2 separate regions of the Homo sapiens genome follow, and region 1 is linked to region 2. Evidence: promoter capture Hi-C in 16 types of primary human blood cells and fetal thymus (Javierre and others, 2016). All regions are on one chromosome and are shown on one strand. The core of a region is centred on a gene start or on the middle of the fragment in contact, and the rest is flanking DNA. Distances in the headings are between cores, read along the strand shown. Region 1 overlaps NTHL1 (nth like DNA glycosylase 1). Region 2 holds the start of RAB26 (RAB26, member RAS oncogene family).

Region 1 (3,679 bases), core at 1,180-3,679, 110 kb before region 2:
GGTCTGCTGGCCGAAGCCCACCAAGAGTCCATTGATCTCGTGCCACAGCTCCCTGTGGGGGTGGGGGCTGGGTCAGTGCTGACAGAGGGCGGGCGGGGTGAGCTCTTCTCCCTAGGAAGCCCCCCACATACTCATACCTAGGCAGCCACTCCTCCAGGGCGGCGCGGGTCTCCTCTGGGGACTTGGTTGCCTTCTTGGTCCACCTCAGCCTGTTGGCGATTCTGTGCACATGCGTGTCCACTGCTGCTGGGAGGCCAAGCGGGGTGAACAGGGGCACACTCCACCAGCCTAGCCCGTGCCCCTCCCCGCCCAGAGGCGAGTCTGCCACCACCCCCGTGGCCCTCCAGTTAGACATTGGAACCGCAAAGCCCTGGCTGCAAGCCTACATGTGACCATCTTGGCTGCCCCTGAGGTGCTGGGGCAGGGGCTGAGCCCTCTGTTGGGGTGCAGGCCTCTCTCCCATCACCTGAGCCAGCCTGGGGGGCTCTGTTCTGGGCTGCCCACTCCCAACACTGGTGCTAGTTGGATGTGTGGGTGGTGGGGTCTCTGCTTTGGGCAGGGCCTGGGGGTGATGACTCGGCTCTGCTTGGAGCTCTATTCCCCACAATAACAGCGACAGCTCGCTTGGACAAACGCTTGCTGGGGGCCAGACCCTGCCAGAGAGATTGGCCAGCTCAGTGAGTCCTCATGAGGTCCTACGGATGCTGAAACCGAGGCCCGGCAGGATCCCGACTCCGAAGCACCTCTCAGCCCTCAGCCTCCCCAGGAACGTGGCCCTGTCCCCGGAAGGGTCCATCCAGGCTTCCCTCTGTCTGTCTCCTGTGGCCTGAGGCTCCTCTCGGCATAAGCACTGGCTCTGGGCACCAGGCTGGGTGGCAACAGCTCTGCCTGGCAGGCCGGCATGAGGTCACTGCCTGCAGACCTAGCACCTGCCACTGCAGCGGTCAGGGACACAGCGGGAGCATGCCCTGGCCGGCCGCAGCTGCTGTCCACCTGGGTTCTGGCTCCTGCTCCCCTCAGCTGGCCACCCCAGGCGTCTGCTCACTGGGGCTCCCTTCTCCCACCCGGTGGCCCCGGCCAGCTGCAGCCCCAGCCCTGCCTCCTCCTCCCGTGTTTCCCAAAGAGAAAGCCGAGGCCTGCACCAGCTCCTTCGCTGCTGCCTAGAAAAAGGTGTCCGAGGGTGTGGGGAGACCACAAGGCCTGAGGGGTCACACCCCTGGGGCTCTGAGCCTCAGTTTCCTCCTCTGTAACACGGAAGTGGCCATGCTTCAAGGCTGAGTCAGGCCACGTCACGTTGTGTGAGCCTCCTGCCCACCTGGACAGTGAATGACGAGGACTGCCTCACCCACTTTGTGGCCAGAGCTTAGAGAAGCCAAGGGCCTGGCCCAGAGTCACCCAGCCAGGAGGTGCAGAGCTGGGACCGGAGCCAGCAATCTATGGCTGTGGCATTTTTTTTTTTTTTTAAACGGAGTCTTGCTCTGTCACCCAGGCTGGATACAGACAATGGTGCGATCTCCACTCACTGCAACTTTCGCCTCTGGGTTTCAAGCGATTCTCCTGCCTCAGCCTCCCGAGGAGCTGGAATTACAGGCTCCTGCCACCACGCCCGGCTAATTTTTTTTTTTTTGGTGAGACGGAGTCACGCTTTGTCGCCCAGGCTGGAGTACACTGGCGCGATCTCAGCTCACTGCAAGCCCCACCTCCCAGGTTCACACTATTCTCCTGCCTCAGCCTCCCGAGTAGCTGGGACAACAGGCGCCTGACACAATGCCTGGCTAATTTTTTGTGTTTTTTAGTAGAGACGGGGTTTCACCATCTTAGCCTGGATGGTCTTGATCTCCTGACCTCGTGATCTGCCTGCCTCGGCCTCCCAAAGTGCTGGGATTACAGGCGTGAGCCACCACGCCTGGCCACACCCGGCTAATTTTTGTATTTTTAGTAGAGAGCGGGTTTCACCACGTTGGCCAGGCTGATCTTGAACTCCTGACCTCAGGTGATCCACATACCTCGGCCTTCCAAAGTGCTGGGATTACAGGCTTGAGCCCTTGTACCCAGCCAGCTCTGACATTTTAACTGAGAGCGTTTCTCTTTCGGGGAACCCCTAGGAGGCAGCCCTGGGGTCTCCTTGCAGGTGGTCAGGCCCACAGACACCTGGAGAGGGAGGTATTTCCACATGGCTGTCTCTTGTGCCCGCTGCTCCCAAAGCCCGTTCCCTGCCTGGCTGCGGGCAGGGACCTTCCCCCACAGCCCTGCCCAACCACGATGCAGCACCCCAGGGACACGGGCAGCTGAGGACAGCCGCCCAGATAAGCTCAAGTGTCCACTGAGAGGCTGGCAGGTGGTGACGCTGGGAGTCTCAGTCGGGAGGAGGCCCTGCCCCGGCGCACCTGGCCTGGCTCTGGCTCTTTGGGGCTGCTGTGGCTGTTCAGCCTCACCAGGTGGCCCCGGCTCAGAATAGAGGCCCCCGGCCCTTGGTGGCCCTCTTGCCCACCAGAAAGTGCTGCAAGCCCCCCGCCTCCGGCACAGGCCCCCTGCAGGAGTCCCAAAGGGGCCTGGGATGGGGGCACACAGAGGGCAGGGCCAAGCCCTGGTTTCTGGACTGGCTGGGCCCGGCTGCGTGTGGCCTTAGGAGCCCCAAATCCTCTGGACAAAGCCGAGGAGGAGGCAGCCCCACCCCAAACCCAGGGGTCTGTCTGCACCCAACTGCCAAGAAGCCTCCGGTGCTAGGAAGAGACACCAGGACCTGGGAAAAGGATTCAAGGAGGGCCCTCCCCCCAGTGCCTCCCTCCCCACCCTCCCCTCTTCTCCCTCTCAACCCTCCCCTCTTCTCCCCGCAGCACCTCCCTCTCCACCCTCCCCCCATCCTCCCAGCGCCTCCCTCCCCACCCTCCTCCCCCATTCCCCCAGCGCCTCCCTCCCTACCATTCCCCTCCTGTCCCCGCAGAGCCTCCCTCCCCACCCTCCCCCTTTCTCCCCCCAGCACCTCCCTCCCCACCCCACCTGCTGAGGGGATACTCTTCCTCCTCCCTCCTCAGTCCTTACCTCCCCACTCTGCCCTCATCTCATTCCAGAACTTCCTGCTCCTGGCCCTCTCTCTCGCATCATGGTTTTACAGATGCTGTTCCTTCTGCTGGGAACACACTTCCTCCTCTTGGCCTGGCTCACCCCACCTTGCTCTGCAGCTCTCAGGTGAAGGATGACCTTGGGGGCCTTCCCAGAGGCCCTGGGCCCAAGCCAGGCCCCAAGAGCACCCTGCACAACCATCAGGGTTTCCACTCCACGAGTGGGGAATTCCTCGCTCCACATTTCTCCCGAATACAACGCAGATGGAGTCCAGCTCCGGGGCCTCTCTCAGAGCCCTGCACGGAGCAGGTGCTCAGCCCATGTGACCTCCTGCCCCAGCACCTGTCTCTGAGTGGGGCTGGCCTGGCTCCACCCTGGGAGCACCTTTCTGACTCTATGGGCTGGGTGGAGGACCAGCATGCTGGAAGTGGAGTCACAGGTCACAAGGATGTGGGGAATCCCAAGAGCAGCCAGTGGGCTGGAGCCAGCCCCGCCCTCCTCTACTCACCAATGCCTGACACAGTGCCCCAGGCCACAGCCATAGCCAGGTGTGCCATCTTGGGCCCAACACCCGGCAGCGCCACCAGCTCGGCCACAGAGGCTGGGATGTCCCCAC
Region 2 (5,357 bases), core at 2,159-4,658:
CTGCCTGCCTCGGCCTCCCAAAGTGCTGCTGGGATTACAGGCGTGAGCCACCGCGCCCGGCCTTTTTTTTTTTTTTTTTTGTGGAGACCAAGTTTCGCTCTTGTCGCCCAGGCTGGAGTACGATGGCGCGATCTCGGCTCACCACAACCTCCGCCTCCTGGGTTCAAGCGATTCTCCTGCCTCAGCCTCCTGAGTAGCTGGGACTACAGGCGCCCGCCACCACACCTGGCTAATTTTGTATTTTTAGTAGAGACGGGGTTTCTCCATGTTGGCCAGGCTGGTCTCGAACTCCCGATCTCAGGTGATCCGCCCGCCCCGGCCTCCCAAAGTGCTGGGGTTTAATCCATCTTTAACCCACTGCAGCATCCCACTGGTCTCTGCCCATGGGCATGGACTCTGACCCTCCCCTCCCTGCCTCCAGGCCTACAGCTTCTTTCCTGAAGGTCCTCTCTGTTCCTATTATCCCTCCCCTGGGTGACTGCAACCCCCATCAATCTCATCTCCAGGCCTACAGGCTCCACCATCCATCCCCTCCTGCCAGTCCCCAATATTCCTGTAGCACAGCGTCCTCTGTTGTTCTGCTCAAAAGCCACGCACAGCTCTCTACTTCCCGCTGTACAATTTCCAAGCTCCTAGGAATAACACTCAGGTTTCCCTTCCCAGCTGACCCCATCCTACCTTACCAGCTTGATTACCTCCCGTTTCCTCCAAGGAACTGGGCCACACTTTGGCCACCTCGGCACAAAGTGCCCATCTCCTAGCACTCTCAGCCTATGCATATTGACTCCCTCCACCTGGGGACTGTCTTTCTCTCTCGTGTCGGACTCTAGCTCAATCCTCAAAGCCCAGTGCAAACCCTCCCTCCCCCAGAAGCCTTGCCCTCACTACTGATCACACTTGCCTTAAATCTTTGTTAGCAAGGACATGTCCTCCTGAAGTGAGGCCTGTGTTTCTAAGTCACATTTCTTTCTCTTTTCTTTTCTTTCTTTTTTTTTTCCCCAGAGTCTCGCTCTGTCACCCAGGCTGGAATGCAACAGCACAATCTCAGCTCACTGCAACCTCCTCCTCCTGGGGTCAAGCGATTCTCCTGCCTCAGCCTCCCGAGTAGCTGGGATTACAGGCGTATGCCACCAGGCCCAGCTAATTTTTGTATTTTTAGTAGAGACGGGGTTTCACCATGTTGGCCAGGCTGGTCTCAAACTCCTGGCCTCAAGTGATCTGCCTGCTCAGCCTCCCAAAGTGCTGGGATTACAGGCGTGAGCCACCACACCTCTTTCACCAATTTAATAACTGCTTATGGAGGCCCAGAGCTGGCTGCTGGGGACAGCAGTTGACCAAGACAAGCTGCTTCCTGTGCCCGGAGAGCTTACACTCCAGAGGGTGAAACAGATGGCAAACACAGCAACCAAGAGACATAATGATCAAAGATTCCGAGGCCTGCTGGAAGCCAAGAGAGGGGTCTGTGATGCAGGCACCCAGAGCTCCCCATTTTCAAGAGAAACCAGAGACTTGGATTTTTATGTAAACTCTCCTAATTTTAAAGGTTGCCAGCGCAAGCCCGTTTCCTCTGCTCTCTCAAGGCTCCCCTCCCCGCCTGGCCTCCCACTTTCTCCAGCGCGCCTGCCTCCTTCTCTTCCTGGGGGCCCCATCCGCACTCCTCCCCCTGCAGGATGCCCTACTTGCACCCAACTCCTCCTGCTGCCCGCGCCCTGGGGGTACCTGAGCAGCAGCTGGCAGGACGGGGTCCACTGGACTGGGAGTCCACTGCCCAGGACCCTGGGGCCAGTGCACAGCAGCTGCTGAGGCCCCCAGCTCAGACCCTGGGCCAGCCATCCTGAAAGAGGCCTTGTAGCGCGGGTGGACACCTGGAGTCCCCAGGGCTGCAGCTGCAGAAGCTAAATGCCTCTACCCAGGCCCAGTGCACACACACTGGGGGTTGGTCTGGAAGAGCTGGGGGGCCAGAGGAGTGAGACAAGGAAGGGTTCTGAGAGGGCTTCCGGGTTTGACCCCCAGCTCTGCCAGGTTCCTGGGGATTAAGTCTACAGGGATTTCTGCCATGGGACGGTTTATGTTCTCTGGAGCTGGAGATCACAGGAACAAATCCTAGCTCTGCCCTTCCTAGCCTGCTGACCTTGCACAGGCTCCTTGCCTTTCTGGGCCTCGGTTTCCCCATCTGGACACTGAGGGCAGTACCCACCTTGCAGGATAACTTTGAAGAGGTCGTGTGCCTGGCACACAACAGTGCTTGCTGTAGGGCAGGCTTCCACGGCCTCTGCCAGGCCCTCTCGAGGAATCACTCTGCTGGGCAGTGCCCCCCATCTGTGTTTTCTCAGGCCTCTGACCCGAGAGGCAGCCAATTGTTTGGACTCTGGGCACTGCCAGCTGGGAGGGCTCAGGTCTCTGAAGGGCCCAAGGTCCTGGTGACAGCTGTCAGGTCTCCGGGGACAGCTGGGTCATCTCTCCAGCTCCCAAAGAAACACCAAGAAGCCCCTGCATGCCAAGGACACCACCCCTCTGGACCACTGTGCCCCAGCTCTGACCACTGCAGTCCCATCTTCTCTGTGAGAGGGGGTGACAGAGCTCCAGTGCAGCCCAGGTTGGGGAGGTGGGTCTGCCAGGGACCAGCTTAGGATTTGGAGAATCGGCCCTGGCCACCTGAAGGTCCGAACCTGGAGGAGAAGGACAAGGGGCCAGCCACACAGCCTGGGCAGGGGCCTCTGCTTTCCACCTTTCAGACCCTGAGGGCAGAGTCCCGTGGGAGGGGACCCTCAGGGGGCCGGGGGCTGGCTGCCACAGCGACTTCCTCCTTCCCGCAGATCCCCAGGCGTGCACAGCAGGCAGAAGCTGTGGGGGAGATCGCAGCGCCCGCTGTGTCCTCCCGGTGACCAGCTGTCACCTGAGCCCAGGGCGCCTGCCCCAGCAGCCTGGTGTGTTTGCCAAGCCAGGGCTGGAGCTTCCTGGACCCGCCTACCCTGGAGGGGATGGAGCAGTGAAGGGCACCGGGCCAAGCGCTAGGCATCTGGGGCTAAGGAGACAGAAGCCCGCGGTGCCCGTCCATGCGGGCCCTCTGCCCCAGCACCCACATCTCAGGACACCCCTTCCTCCCAGGTCTGGCGGTCCAGTTTGGGGGTCACCGAGCTGGGGTGGTGTGCAGCCAGCAGAGGGGATTCAGGATCCCGGGGTGACTCCTGGCCCAGGCCTGTCACCCCACAGCTGGCTCCTGGCCCCAAGGCAGCCACGGGCAGGGGTCGTGATCGGGGGCGGGACGGGGCCCGGACCTCCTGACCGCCCCCCACCCCCCGCCGAGCGGGGGTGTATTTGCATGTCCCCGCCCCACGCACGGCATTGGCGGCGGCGGCGGGAGGCCGGGCCTGAGTGGCTGCGCGCCCGTGGAGCGGCGGGGGCGGGGCGCGAGCCGGGCGCCCGGGATGATGCCGCCGCCGCCGCCGCCGCCGCCGCCGCCGCCAGGGGAAGGGTTCGGGTCCGGGTCGGGCTCGGCGGGCGCGGGGTGCGGGACGGCCCAGGGCACGGCGGCTGCAGCGGGAGCACACTGAGCGCCCGCCCGCCATGTCCAGGAAGAAGACCCCCAAGAGCAAAGGGGCCAGCACCCCCGCTGCCTCCACGCTGCCCACCGCCAACGGGGCCCGACCGGCGCGCTCCGGGACTGCGCTTTCCGGCCCCGACGCGCCGCCCAACGGGCCCTTGCAGCCCGGCCGGCCCTCGCTTGGCGGCGGTGTCGACTTCTACGACGTCGCCTTCAAGGTGAGCCAGGCACCCGCCCCCCAGGCCAGCGCAGCAGGTGGCGCCCGGCCTGAGCCAAGGGTTGGGGGTCGGACAGGGGGTGCAGGGCCCGCGGCCCCAGGGCGCGGAGCCGACGCGGGAGGAACCCCGTGGGGCTTGCACGGTGCATCGTGCACACACAGCTGTCCATCCCAGGTCTGGGGTATCCAACAGCTGGCAGGGCCTGTCCCCCACCCCCCAGGCGGCATGGTGGCACAAGGGGTCCCGCGCCCCAGTGCCCTGGCCCCCGCCCGGGGTCTCACCATTTCCCGTATGCTGCCCTCCCTCAACCCAGCGGCTGTGGGCCTTTTTTTTTTTTTTTTTTTTTTGCTGGGGGGAAGAGGTTTGCCAGATGGATGGGGAACCCTGGGACTCCAGACCAAGGCAGAGGCTGTGTGGACTTGGCAGGGGGCTGGGAGGACCATTTTGGGTTTGGTAGCACAGGTTTCGGGGAGAAGGCCTGACTGCTGCCCACTTGCACCTCCCCCCAACCTCAGACTTGGCCCAGGTCCCTCTTCAGATCGAGATCTGATCCTAATGGGGCAAATTCCTCGAGCCTTGCTGGGGTCATGTCCCTACTGGGATGTGGAGAAGCCCCCGGCAGAGGCCTCCCCAAGTCTCTTAGGAGGTACCCAGCTGCCACCCCACCTGCTCCCCTCCCAGATGCTGTCCACCGTGTGGGGGTATGGACGTTAGGGAGGGTCCGGGATGCAGGTGGCTGCCCTCACTCCCCGCTGACTGAGACGGCCACTGTGCAGAAGGACAGAGCAGCCCCAGCCTTTCAGAGGCATACGCTGGGTGTCCAGCCCATCGGGGTCCCTGGCCCCGCTGAGCCTGCAGGCCTGGGCTGCCTCCCTCCACTCCTGCTCCTCACCTGCAGCCCCCTTCTGACCAGGCCAGCTCAGGGCAGACCAGACTCCCCCCAACCCTCCTGCTTGTCCTAGGTCATGCTGGTGGGGGACTCGGGTGTGGGGAAGACCTGTCTGCTGGTGCGATTCAAGGATGGTGCTTTCCTGGCGGGGACCTTCATCTCCACCGTAGGCATTGACTTCCGGGTGAGTGGAGGCCCTGGCCTGGCCCCACATCAGAGTCCCGCCGGTACCCGAGCAGCAAGTTCTCTCTGATCCCCATGGTACCAACAGGCTCGAGGCCTGGACCCCAGAAGCTGCCTGCCTCGACCTTCCAACACCTGGGCTGGTGGCTGCACCCGACAAGCATAGTTAGTTGCCCTATGCCAGGGGCTGGCATTACCGAGGGACCATATCCTGTGCCTTGGGGGAGGCGGACACTGTTGCCTACAGGGTGGTGGGTCAGAGGAAGTCAAGGGCCACGTCCACTTGGGGCCAGCAGTGCTGCCTCGGTACAGAGGCCTTACTGGGCCCTAGAAGCACATGCTCCCTGCAGAGCCTGAGCGAGGGTTTCCAGGGCTTGCCTAGGGGAGAGGACCCTGCTCTTGGGTGAGGAGCGCCCACCCCCACCCCCACCAGCTGGAATTCCTCGTGCTGAGGTGCCGGCTTGTCCTCAGCAAATCTTAAATTTGCATTTTTCTCACCCTTTAATTAGAGCCAGTTAGAGGG

What was found. The method cuts DNA at HindIII sites, captures the fragments that hold promoters and counts their contacts. A CHiCAGO score of 5 or more calls a contact.
Region 1: a contact is called between a fragment that was not itself captured here and the fragment with the promoter of RAB26 in region 2, in 9 of 17 cell types (erythroblasts, megakaryocytes, naive CD4 T cells and 6 more). The highest score is 8.5, in erythroblasts.

What each region holds. Positions count from the first base shown.
Region 1 is chr16:2,039,996-2,043,674 of GRCh38, forward strand. NTHL1 (nth like DNA glycosylase 1) reads right to left here. Exons shown (of 6, transcript NM_002528.7): 4 at 3,572-3,679; 5 at 138-243; 6 at 1-52. Among named protein-coding and RNA genes, the nearest start is that of NTHL1, 6.0 kb to the right of the region's middle. The HindIII fragment of the contact is 5,183 bases long and covers 1-3,679 here.
Region 2 is chr16:2,145,217-2,150,573 of GRCh38, forward strand. RAB26 (RAB26, member RAS oncogene family) reads left to right here and starts at 3,409. Exons shown (of 9, transcript NM_014353.5): 1 at 3,409-3,762; 2 at 4,725-4,835. The coding sequence starts at 3,568. RefSeq lists enhancers at 2,410-2,961, 2,962-3,511, 3,512-4,063, 4,064-4,615, 4,616-5,167 and 2 more and silencers at 3,050-3,099, 3,110-3,379, 3,390-3,479, 3,570-3,739, 3,750-3,879 and 1 more. The HindIII fragment of the contact is 14,976 bases long and covers 1-5,357 here.